2 separate regions of the Homo sapiens genome follow, and region 1 is linked to region 2. The links are contacts of gene promoters, found by promoter capture Hi-C in blood cells and fetal thymus (Javierre and others, 2016). All regions are on one chromosome and are shown on one strand. The core of a region is centred on a gene start or on the middle of the fragment in contact, and the rest is flanking DNA. Distances in the headings are between cores, read along the strand shown. Region 1 overlaps LOC100131626 (a long non-coding RNA gene). Region 2 holds the start of BUD13 (BUD13 spliceosome associated protein).

Region 1 (6,579 bases), core at 3,473-5,972, 1.6 Mb before region 2:
CCCCTCCTTGTGTCCATGTGTTGACATTGTTCACCCTCACTTGTAAGTGAGAACATGTGGTGTTTGATTTTCTGTTCCTGTGTTAGTTTGCTGAGGATAATGGCTTCCAGCTCCATCCCCAACCCTGCAAAGGACATGATCTCATTCTTTTTTATGGCTGCATAGTATTCCATGGTGTATATGTACCACATTTTCTTTATCCAGTCTATCACTGATGGGCATTTGGGTTGATTCCATGTCTTTGCTATTGTGAATAGTGCTGCAATATGTATGTATCTTTATATGTACCTAGTACATCCACTTTCAAAACAACTTAATCACCTTTTTGGAGAAGTTTTTTTCTGATTTTCCCAAACTGCTTCCCTTTACCCTCCTGTTGATGCTTCTTGTAGCACACATCATTGTATAATAGAATGATTTATATAATTTATAATGATATAACAGAATGATTTATGTTAGAATGATTCATATTCTATAGAATAGAATAGAATAGAATGATTTATATTCCTTTGGGTATATACCCAGTACTAGGACTGCTGGTTCCAATGGTATTTCTGGTTCTAGGTCTTTGAGGAATCGCCACACTGTCTTCCACATCACCCCTGACTTAATGTTTACTTGGTCATTATTACTTTCATTTTTTCCCCAATCTGGGGCTTACATGACTTCCTTTCCATTGTTCTACCTGGAGGTCACTAAAATTGGTAACCACTCTTCCACCATCACCTTATAATTCACTGTCTTAGAACTACATTTATTCAGTTGTTCTATTAGGTTCCCCACTCTCTTGAGACCCAGAGTCAGATGACATCAGGTAAAAATGCAGGCTGTCCTTAGGGGAAACAGTAGCTATTTTAACAAGCAGGCTATAATTCAAAACCACACAACAGTATTTAATTGCTTTTGGATTTGACAACACTGGAATGCATTAAAACTTGGAGCCTCTGAAGATAACCTTCCTAACTTCATGCAAGAAGTCCAAGGTATAGTTCTTATAAAAATCCATCCATAGGTTGCATATGTAAAATCCTCTGAGGAAAATGGTGGTGCTATAAACCTTTACATGATGAGCTTCTTTCAGCTGTAACAAGGATATAAATCAGGAAATGCGGGCTTGGCAAAGAAAGAGTTAAGATGATCAATTTCTAAGGAATTTCAGGGATTTTCAGATTTCAGGCTTGGTCTTTTATAAAGGATCTTCTGCTGCCTACCTCCTGGTTCTCCCCTGCTAGACCTTACATATGCAAAGGTAGCTTTGCATTAGCTAGCACAGTAGAGAAGGCTAATCAGAGATCCACATCTCTGTTTCAGAGTTGGAGGTTGAGATGCAAGAGTGACTCAGCTGGCATCAGCTCTGTAGCAGTCTCAGCCTGCAGGCCTTCAGGAAGTAAGTCCTCCAGGCCTGCATCTCCCTCTGTGGCAAATTGCCACTAAACTCTGCTGTTTATCAACCCAGTACCAAACACAGTAGGATGAGTCTGCTGTTTCACTGTTTTCAACAAACCCAAAAACACAGAAGCCAGATTACATGATGGGATAGTATTACAACAGTGTATTAGATACAGTATCTCCCTTAAGAAGCTTACAGTTTAGTAAGGAAATAAATGTAAATATAGCATTAGAGTGCAATGATGTGTGCTACAAGAAGCATCGACAGGAGGGTAAAGGGAAGCAATTCGGGAAAATCAGAAAAAAACTTCTCTGAAAAGGTGATGAAGTGGTTTTGAAAGTGGATGTGCTAGGTAGAAAGTGCCAGGAATGAAGGCAGAGGGGAAAACATTTATATAGATTAATTAATGGATACATTCACTTTATTCATCACATTTGCATTGAGTGACTTCTGTGTGCTTGCAGCATGTGATACGAACCATATAGTACAGGCAAGGTGGTGTATATATATAGGTGGAGATATGGTAAGATGAGATAATGATGTTGTGGGAGTAACTGGAAGTTCTCCAATTGCTTAAATTTTCTCAGTCAAGTAGGAAGTAAGGTCGTCTGTTGAAGGATGTAATTGCGGTCTGAAGAAACATAATATGATTGGCTGGTAGTATTAAGTGCTCTCTTAAGGTTCTGACCATCATGAATATAAAGTGAGACTACTTTTTTTTTTTTTTTTTTTGAGACAGAGTCTCGCTGTGTCGCCAAAACAGGAAGGAGTGTAGTGGTGCAATCTCGGCTAATTGCAACCTCTGCCTCCCAGGTTCAAGCGATTCTTATGCCTCAGCCTCCCAAGTAGCTGGGACTACAGGTGCGTGCCACCATGCTCAGCTAAATTTTGTATTTTTAGTAGAGAGCGGGTTTCACCATGTTGGCCAGGCTGGTCTCAAACTCCTGGCCTCAAGGGATCCACCCAAAGTGTTGGGATTACAGGCGTGAGCCACTGCACCTGGCCAGACTAGTTACTTTGTTTTCTCCAACTTCATTTGGCTGCATAGGTGCAGAGCAGGTAGACAGCTGAATTAAGCCAAGGAGGTGGTTTTGGTAAGTGAGTACAACGAAGTGAGTGAGAGGCAAGGAAGTTGAAGGTGTATTCAAGAGAATGCTTATGATTGATCATGGAACCTAAGTTGTAACAGGAGAGAAAAGCTGAAATCAAGGGGGTGAGGGAGATGGTAGGATCAATTTATTGATGGTCATGAAAACTCTGAATTTGTGTAGTTATTTGACAGAATGGGCTAGGAAGGTCATAGGTGGTCAGAGAGAGGGATGCATGAAATTGAAACTAAGATGGTTGATGTTTTTGGTAAAAAGATGGGAATCAGTATTTAAGGAAGGTGAAAGGTATTAACTGTTAAGTTTTTAGGGAATCAAAAGGCCAGGTTGGTTGAAGGATCATTTATGTTAATAGTTCTCAAACTTTAGCATGCATTAGACTTATATATGGAAAGATAATTAAAACACAGATTGTGCTAGGTGCAATGACGTATGCCTGTAGTCCTAGCTACTTGGGAGGCTGAGGGAAGAAGATTGCTTGAGCTCAGGGGTTTGAGACCAGTCCAGGTAACACAGTGAGACCATCTCTAAAAAAATGCAAAACAACACAACAAAAAAAATACAGATTGCAAGATCTCACTCCTAGTTTCTGGGGTAGAGCCTGGTAATTTTCATTTCTAAATTCCCTGGTGATGCTGATGCTGCTGTGGTCCAGGGACTGTACTTTGGAAACTACTGACCCATGTGTATGTTGAAATTGCAATTGTCAAGAATTAAGATAGAAGTAGTGTTATAAAGTGACAGTGAGCCAGGACACAAAATTGGCAAGAAATAAAGGGGACCAGCTGCGGTGGCTCACGCTTGTAATCCCAGCACTTTGGGAGGCCAAGGTGGGGGATTCTTTCAGCCTAGGAGTTTGAGACCAGCTTGGGCAATGTGGCTACCCTGTCTCTACAAAAAAATAGCCGTGTGTGGTGGCATGCGCCTGTAGTTCCAGCTATTTGGGAAGCTGAGATGGGAGGATCTTGATTGAGCCTGGGAGGTTGAGACTGCAGTAAGCTGTGATCATGCCACTATACTCCAGCCCAGGCGACAGAGCGAGACCCTGTCTCAAAAGACAAAAAGAAAGAAAGGGGAATGAACTGATTAGTGGAAAATTGCAACAATCAGGGACAGTGGATACACACTCTAATAACATGATATTTAAAGCTAGGTTTTATGGGGATTGGTTAGAAATGGTGGCTGAAACAATGGTTGGCAGCTAAGTGAGATTAAGATGAGGCAGAAGGGAGATTGCCAAGGGCTTTGCATGTTAGTATTTTATTATATCAGGGCCTTTTGTTTGGTAAACAGGTCTAGTGTAAGTTCCCTGCTAAGGGATTACCTCTGGTGGAACTGTTACTGAATTCATCACAAGGGTGATCACAATCTTATGTCCTAGTAGAAACAAAAACCACACTAATTAGGAAATAGTAAGTCCTACTAAACTACCTATCACTTTACATAAGATTAGGGAGGTTGATATCTAATGAGACAAGAAATCTTAAATAACTTAATAGTAGGGCAAAGCAGGACCAAGAATATATAATACAGAATGGAACTGTGGAAATACAAAGCAGGATCCACAAGCTGGTCACAGGTAGAGTCAGGGCACAGACTACAACACAGGATCATGACCTGGGCCCAGCTTATGCTGCCACCACTTATTGCTCTTGGGATCCTAGCCAAATTGTTTTATGTTTTCTGCTCAGTTCCTCTCTTGTTAAATGGTATATCATTTATGGCACGTGCTTCAGAGGAAAGTTGAGGGCTAAATGAGATAGTTGGTGCAAGTGCTTTGAAAAGGTAAAGTGTTATACAAATATGAAATATTTAAAAAGAAAGTATTGAGCTATCCTTAGAAATCAGGGTAGAATACTTAGGTATGTAAGAGATGAATGGAAAAGAGGAGAAACTGTTAATCTAAGAACAATGCTGAGATGTATAAAACAAAGGATGAGGCCGGGCGTGGTGGCTCACTCCTGTAATTCCAGCACTTCGGGAGGCTGAGGCGGGCAGATCACGAGGTCAAGAGATCGAGACCATCCTGGCCAACATGGTGAAACCCTGACTCTACTAAAAATACAAAAAATGAGCTGGACATGCTGGTGCGCGCCTGTAGTCCCAGCTACTTGGGAGGCTGAGGCAAGAGAATCTCTTGAACCCAGGAGGTAGAGGTTACAGTGAGCCGAGATGGCACCACTGCACTCCAGCCTGGCGACAGAGTGAGACTCCGTCTCAAAAAAAAAAAAAAAAAAGGATGGAATATGCAATGTGGACAGTTTCACATTAGTTTTTTTTTTTTTTTTTTTTTTTGAGACCAAGTTTCGCTCTTGTTGCCCAGGCTGGAGTGCAATGGCATGATCTTGGCTCACTGCAACCTCCGCCTCCCAGGTTCAAGAGATTCTCCTGCCTCAGCTTCCCAAGTAGCTGGGATTACAGGCATGTGCCACGACGCCCGACTAATTTTGTATTTTTAGAAGAGATGGGGTTTCACTATGTTGGTCAGGCTGGTCTCCAACTCCTGACCTCAGGTGATCCGCCAGCCTTGGCCTCTCAAAGTGCTGGGATTACAGGTGTGAGCCACCGCACCCGGCCTCACATTAGCTTTTTTTTTTTTTTGAGACGGAGTCTCGCTCTGTGCCAGGCTGGAGTGCAGTGGTGCCATCTCGGCTCACTGCAACCTCTGCCTCCTGGATTCAAGCGATTCTCCTGCCTCAGCCTCCCAAGTAGCTGGGACTACAGGCATGTGCCACCACGCCCAGCTAATTTTTGTATTCTTATTAGAGATGGGGTTTCACCATGTTGGCCAGGATGGTCTTGATCTCTTGACCTCGTGATCCGCCCACCTCGGCCTCCCAAAGTGCTGGGATTATAGGCGTGAGCCACCGCACTTGGCCACATTAGTTTTGAAATGATGAAAGCCTCAACAAAAAGCCTCATTTACTTATATATAGATAGCAGTTTCCTTAGGAATAAACCTTTGGACCACAGTGACAAATATTTGCATAACTGGCTTTGACTTAACCATTATGTTCTCTCTCCTCGTGATGCCTACTACTAAATGAGTACTTCTACTTTTACATACTGAGAAAATTGTAGGACCACATGCACTGTTATATGAACCCTATGCAAGTTTGCAGGTTTCTATTCTGGCTTTTGTTACATGGAATTGAAATTACCTGCTGATGTTAGACTACCCAAGTTACTTCAGGGCAGGACTGTGCCTTGTCAAAATCTTTCAATGGCTTTCTATTCAATGTCCTTAAAGAAGTCCAAGCCTTAACAGGCATAAAATACAATCTGGTCCCCACCATCTCTGGCTTTACCTCTCAGTGCTCTCCTCTGCCTGGCAATTTGGCCACACTTACACTCTCAGACCCTCAATGTACTACACTTTTTCTGACAGTAGCTTTTGCACAGGTTGTTTCACTTGGCCAGCATACCTTGCTCCATTCTTCTTGGCTAATGTACTTTCCTTGTTTATATAGCTACTATTTTCTCTGACAACCTCCCTTGAACGTCCTTCTCGTCTGGGTTAGCTTTTCTTTTTTCTTTTTTTTTTTTTTGAGACAGAGTCTCCCTCTGTCGCCCAGGCTGGAGTGCAGTGGTGTGATCTCGGCTCACTGCAACCTCCACCTCCCAGGTTCAAGTGATTCTACTGCCTCAGCCTCCCGAGTAGCTGGGACTACAGGTGTGTGCCACCACGCCTGGCTAATTTTTGTGTTTTTAGTAGAGACAGGGTTTCACTATATTGGCCAGGCTGGTCTCAAACTCCTGACCTCATGATCTGCCCGCCTTGGCCTCCCAAAGTGCTGGGATTACAGGTGTGAGCCACTGCACCCTGCCCTGGGTTAGCCTTTCAAGTATACCTTCCCCTTCCCTCATTATAGTACTTCTCACATCTTATTACAGTAATTGCATGCCTAATTACCTGTCTTACCAGATCAAACTCTGTGAAACAGGTAACAGTCTTGTTCATGAATGTTTCTGCCATTTTAATTGTGCCTAGAACTTAGGAGGTGCACAATAAACACCGAGTTTGCCAATGCCAAACACTTGGCAGCACACATTCATTGAAAGCCTCAACAGTTCTGTTAGAAG
Region 2 (6,366 bases), core at 115-2,614:
AAATGGTACAAGTTTTCAGTTTTAAGACAAGTTCTGGGAATCTAATGTACAACATGTTGACTATAGCTAATAATTCTGTATTGTTTACTTGAAGTTTGCTAAGACAAATTTGCTTAAGTGCCCCCCCACCGAACTACTACATAAATTAGTGAAGGATGTTTTACTTAATTTGATTTTGGTAATCATTACACAATGTATAATTATATCCAGTCATCACATTGTACACCTTGAATATATATAATTTTTTGTCAAATAATAAAGCTGGGAAGAAAACGATAAAACTGACAATCTAACATATATGATGAGGTAAAAAGATCTGGTATTTCAAGAAATTTGGATGACCTCTTGCACCCCACTTCGCTAGCCTCTACTCCCTAGAGTCATGTTCTGACTATGTGAAGTTGAGCAACTTCCTTAATCTTGCCACGCTTCAGTTCTTATCTGTAAAATATGATAATGAAACGATTTGAGAATTGTGAGGGTTAAATGAGATAATTCAGGTAAAGCTCTAAACCCCCTGCAAAGAATAAAGTCTTTTCTTTCCCCCCAAAACTTGAGTGTTAGAATTCATTCTCTCTGGTTTCTCTCTTTTACTATGCTAAAAAATGATCCAGGTCCGTCCTTCTCATTGGCAAGATTGTTTTACAGTTTCCTTCAAGAGATAACTGGGGGCTACTTGTAATAGAACACTAGAAGAGTTACACAGGTCTTAGAAACTACGTTTTTCATAGTAATTATGTTGGTTTGCACTTCCTGGCTTCCTTTCTTGGACGGTAGGTACCTGGAAGCCTAGTGGAGCAGATTCCCCCCACTTAAAGATACTTATAAAAATAACGAACATAGTTCCGATGACCATGTGCCCAACACCGCTCTGCGCACTTCACACAGTAATATCATCTCAGCCTGTGACCGTTCCGAGTTAGGTGCCGGGATTCTCCCTGTTTTGTGATAACTTGCCCGAGGTCGTACAGCTAGCCAGCTATGGAACCAGTATTCAAACTCGGCTACGCTGCAGCCCGTGGCCCTCCACTTTCTTGCTCGTGCTCTGGAGTTTAGGCGGCCGATGGGGGCGGGGTCCTTTGGGTCAGGTTGTGGCCTCATAGAACAGCGCTTGCTGCGGTTGGATGGATGGGTGGGTGGGTGGGTGAGTGAATGAAGAGAAGAAACCTGGTGGCGTCGTCCCAGGGCTGTGGAGCGCCCCGAAGGTGCGCACGTCCCTGGCTAGCCTGCGAGCGCGTCCCGGTGGCCGCACCTGCCAGCCGCGCGATTCTTAGCACTCTCCGCCACTTCCGGCCGTGGCCCCGCCCTGTCGGGTGGCTGGCGTCCGTTACGCGTTGAGGCATTTTGTCCCCAGCGCCGACCCGTCTCTCTGCCCCCGCCGCTGCCATGGCGGCAGCTCCGCCGCTTTCCAAGGCCGAGTATCTGAAGCGTTACTTGTCCGGGGCAGATGCCGGCGTCGACCGGGGATCTGAGTCCGGTCGCAAGCGTCGCAAAAAGCGGCCGAAGCCTGGCGGGGCCGGCGGCAAGGGGTGAGTTGGTACCGGCCGGGGCGGGGCCTGCGACGTCTAGCCACCCCTTCCCAACTCCGCCCTCGGCCGCCCGGCAGTTCCTTCCCTCTTGGCGGGTCTCTCGGCTTCTCCGCCGACCCCTGCTCATGCTCAGGGCCCCACTCACATCGCTTGAGGCCCCCCGCCTTGCCTCTGCCGCCCCGCTTACATCTCGAGCCTCTGAGCAGTAGCGTCAGTGCGTTAAAGCCGGGGTGTAACTTTGATTACTCTTTTCCCGCCTTGGTAGACTTCCGTCCTCTCCCATAGAGAATGAATATTGTGCCTCGAGAATAATGGAGCGGATTCAAAGCCTCTGTGCTTGGATCTTTAGGGCCCGGTACCTGCCTGTGGGGATTCCCAGATCCCAAGGACTTGGTTCTGAATCAGAGACCTTTGATCACCTCCTGTTACTCTTAGTAATAGTCCTAACGTGAGAAGCTAACATTTATATAGTTATACTTTTCTTGCCAGGCACCATTATAAGAAATTTAAACATATATAAGTTTATTTAAGCCTCACCACACTACCATGAAGTGGGTATTATTTTCATATGGGACAACTTTGTGGCCCAGTGTAGTGGGCCCTACCAAATCGTTTTCCACCCAGAACCACAGAATGTGACATTTAGAAATAGGGTCTTTGGAGATGTAATCAGTTAAGATGAGGTCATACTTGATTAAGGTGGGTGCCAAATCCAAGATGACTGTTTGCCTTTTAAAAAGAGGGAAGTATGGATACAGACACAGCAACAAAGGAAAAACGACCATGTCTAGATGAAGGCTGAGATTGGATTGGATTTATGTTGCCAAAAGCCAAGGTATGCTTGGGGCTACCAGAAGCTGGGAGAGGCAAGGAAAGATTCTCTGCTAGAGACTTTCCAGGGAGGATGGCCTTGCAGACACCTGGATTTCAGATTGCTAGCTTCCAGAACTGCGAGAGAGTTTCTGTTGTTTTATGCCACGCAATTTGTGGTACTTTGTTACAGTAACCCTAAGGCACTGAGATACCCAGTGAAGTCACATTGTTCTAAAGAACTAGTCCAAGTTCTTTTCTGGTTTGGTGCTTGCCTTATTATTGTCTTCGTCTTTCTGCCTCGCTGACTTGTGTGGATCCTTTGGAGGCAGTGCCATGTGATGAAAGTAGCTTGAGTGTTGGAGCAGCACTGGTCAGAGTTCGAATCCTAGCTGTGCCACTTTATAGGCTGTGTACCCTTGGGCAAGGTGTTTCATCTCACTGAGCTGCAGTTTCCTTATCTTTAAAATGAGAATAATAATAATAATGGTTTTATTAAGTGGTGGTTGTGATTAGAGGGATTGCATTAAGTGACCCTGGCTTTTTGAATAACTTCACATCATGGCAGTCATTGTTATTATTTGGGCTCAGCTATATAGTTTATCCACGTAACAAACATTTATTGAATATTTCGTATTCCAGTTACTGTAGGGTGTTGAGGATGCCTCTGTGAACAAAAAAAACATAGTCCCTGTTCTTGTGGAGCTTATAGATTAATGGGAATACAGGCTTTAAGCAACTAATTACACAACTAATCGATATATTTTCTTTATGATAAATGCAATGAAAGTATTCCAAGAGTTTTTAACAAGGGTTCTTAGTCTTGAGTGAGTGTGGGATGGTGAGGGAATTGGGTGAAGCAGTCAAGAAAAGTTTGCCAAAGGAAGTTAAATTTGTGTTAGGACCTGAAGAATGAGGAAGAGTTTCCTGGAATGAGAAAGAGTTTCCTAGCACTTTGGGAGGCCAAGGCGGGTGGATTGCTTGCATCTAGGAGTTTGAGACCAGTCTGGGCAACATGGTGAAACCCTGTTTCTACAAAAAATACAAAAAAGTAGTCAGGCACAGTGGCACATGCCTGTAGTCCCAGCTACTTGGGAGACTGAGTAGGGAGAATAACTTAACCCCGGGAAGTCAAGGCTGCAGGGAGCCATGATGGTGTCCCTGCACTCCAGCCTGGGCAGCAGTGTGAGACCCTGTCTCAAAAAAGAAAAAGACTAGGGCCGGGCGCGGTGGCTCACGCCTATAATCCCAGCACTTTGGGAGGCCAAGGCGGGCGGATCACGAGGTCAGGAGATCGAGACCATCCTGACTAACACGGTGAAACCCCGTCTCTACTAAAAATACAAAAAATTAGCCAGGCGTGGCAGTGGTCGCCTGTAGTCCCAGCTACTCAGGAGGCTGAGGCAGGAGAATGGTGTGAACCCGGGAGGCAGAGCTTGCAGTGAGCTGAGATCGTGCCACTGCACTCCAGCCTGGGCAACAGAGCGAGACTCCGTCTCAAAAAAAAAAAAAAAGAAAAAGATTGAAAAGAGTAGATCAGGCAGAGGGAAGGAACTGCATATGTGAAAACTGATGTGATAGGAACTTGGCTCCTTTCTAAGCACCAAAGGATGACCAGGGAGGTGTTCAACCAAGGAAGTAGCAGTAGGAGATGAAGTTGACCTTGTAGACAAAGACTGGACCATGCAGGATCCTGTAGGATTTTGAACTTTATTTTAAAACCAATAGATAAATGTTTTTATGCTGGTATCCTAGAATGACTCTTTTTGATCTTCTTATTCTCATTTAGAATGCGGATTGTGGATGATGATGTGAGCTGGACAGCTATCTCCACAACCAAACTAGAAAAGGAGGAAGAGGAAGATGATGGAGATTTGCCTGTGGTATGTATCTTTGGGGCTGTCAGGATTTTGAAATGAAGCAAGCTTCTCAATTTCCTTTTTTTTTTTTTTTTTGAGACGGAGTCTCGCTCTGTCACCCAAGCTGGAGTGCAATGGCATGATCTTGGCTCACTGCAACCTCCGCCTCCCGGGTTCAGATGATTCTCCTGCCTCAGCCTCCTGAGTAGCTGGGATTACAGGCACCCGCCATCATGCCTGGCTAATTTTTTTTTTTTAATTTTTGTAGAAATGGGGTTTCACCATGTTGGCCAGGCTGGTCTTGAACTCATGACCTCAGGTGATCCACCCACCTTGGCCTCCCAAAGTGCTGGGATTACAGGCGTGAGCCATTGTGCCAGGCCAAGCTTCTCAAATTTATTTTTCCAGCTTAGGGTAGATTTGTAGGGGGGTTAGTTGAGAACAGAAAAGAGGTGACAGTTTCCAAAGAGCTGTTTAAAATAGTTTTCTTTGCTGATGCCTATACACCAACTTGTCTCTTTATGGAGGGTCCATCAGCCTAGAAATGAGATGGATCACAGAGAGAGGACTTCTCGACATCAGTGTTAGAGTAATGATGAGACTTAGCTGTGGTTCATTTTGTTGGAATCTTTCTTAAAAACAATGCTGAGGTTCAGTTATAGGGAACTTTTTATTTGCTCCTTTTTTCAGTGCTTTAACTAAGCTTTCAAATTGTATATTCTTGCCTAAGTACTGGAGATATGTAGATTAATAGAACATAGCTGTATTTTAGAGATTATACCCTAGAATGAAAAACTGAATTTCAGATAAATTTCAACAGTATGGTAAATGTTGGGGATGTTTCACATACGTACCAAGTACCATTAGAGCCCGGGGAGGTAGCATACTTTGTATTCTGTTGGGAGATATCCTGAAAGATGTAAATACTGAGTTTTGAAGGGTAAGTAAGAGCCAGGTGGACAAAATCATAGGCAAATGACCTCCCAGTGGTTCATGAAACCATTGCTGAGAATTTCTGAGAAACAAAGTGGAAAGGAGAGCTGTAGATAGGCTGAATTCCACTAAAGTTGGTAAAGATGGATTCCAGTGAGTATTTAATATTAATTCCCAGCAAAATTCTTTTTTTTTTTTTTTTTTTGAGACGGAGTCTCACCGTGTTGCCCAGGCTTGAGTGTAGTGGTATGATCTCGGCTCACTGCAAGCTCTGCCTCCTGGGTTCACACCATTCTCCTGCCTCAGCCTCCTGAGTAGCTGGGACTACAGGGGCCCACCAACACGCCCGGCTAATTTTTTGTGTTTTTTTTTGTATTTTTAGTAGAGACAGGGTTTCATCATGTTAGCCAGGTTGGTCTTGATCTCCTGACCTCGTGATCCGCCCACCTCGGCCTCCTGAAGGGCTGGGATTACATGTGTGAGCCACTGCACCTGGCCAATTCCCAGCAAAATTCTAAAATAGATTATTTAAAAGAGGGCTTGCTAGTAATTAGAAGGGAAATAGTGATCTTAGGGAGCCAATTTAGTTTTGGTCAGAAGAAGTAAATATTAACAATGTTTGTTGTTTTTTTTTAATTTTATAAAAGCAATGCATATTTATTACAGAATATTTGGGAATTAAAAAAAGTTTAAAGTTTTTAAAAGAATAAACACTTGCATGTTACCATCCAAAGATAACTGCTAATACTTGGATGCATATCTCTTCAGGTTTTTCTCTTTAGAGATTATACACGCTTGTATTTTATTTTTTTGAACATAATTGGGATCATATTGTACATAGGGTTTTGGAGTCTACTCCTCTGCTAAATAATATGTTGTGGATACTCTGGTAAGACCTTAAAATATTCTTTGAGTGTATGATTTTTAACGGTTATGTAGTAGTTCAATATATATATTTTATCTGTTCTGTTACTGGATACATGGATTGTTTCCACTTATAAAATATCATACATCGTTGTACATAAATCATTTGTAGAAATCAGTTTATTTCTTTATTCCCATAAAATGAAATGAGTGGATCAAAGGGTATGGTTCGCTTTAGTTATATTCCCATGTTGCTTTCCAAAAGGTGCTACCAATTTACACTCCCACTAGAGGTGATGAGAATGCCAGTTTGCCTACGTCGTCAATATTAGAGCACTATTATTATTATTATTATTATTATTATTATTATT

Evidence for each region. The method cuts DNA at HindIII sites, captures the fragments that hold promoters and counts their contacts. A CHiCAGO score of 5 or more calls a contact.
Region 1: a contact is called between a fragment that was not itself captured here and the fragment with the promoter of BUD13 in region 2, in 1 of 17 cell types (monocytes). The highest score is 6.3, in monocytes.

Annotation. Positions count from the first base shown.
Region 1 is chr11:118,410,676-118,417,254 of GRCh38, reverse strand. All of the region lies in intron 3 of LOC100131626 (a long non-coding RNA gene), which reads left to right. Among named protein-coding and RNA genes, the nearest start is that of ATP5MG, 12 kb to the right of the region's middle. The HindIII fragment of the contact is 6,277 bases long and covers 1,584-6,579 here.
Region 2 is chr11:116,767,985-116,774,350 of GRCh38, reverse strand. It overlaps BUD13 (BUD13 spliceosome associated protein), which reads left to right and starts at 1,364. Exons shown (of 10, transcript NM_032725.4): 1 at 1,364-1,529; 2 at 4,129-4,222. The coding sequence starts at 1,387. It overlaps ZPR1 (ZPR1 zinc finger), which reads left to right. Exons shown (of 14, transcript NM_003904.5): 14 at 1-552. BUD13-DT (BUD13 divergent transcript) reads right to left here and starts at 880. Exons shown (of 2, transcript NR_186226.1): 1 at 840-880; 2 at 146-441. RefSeq lists an enhancer at 816-905 and a silencer at 1,026-1,225. The HindIII fragment of the contact is 6,866 bases long and covers 1-4,266 here.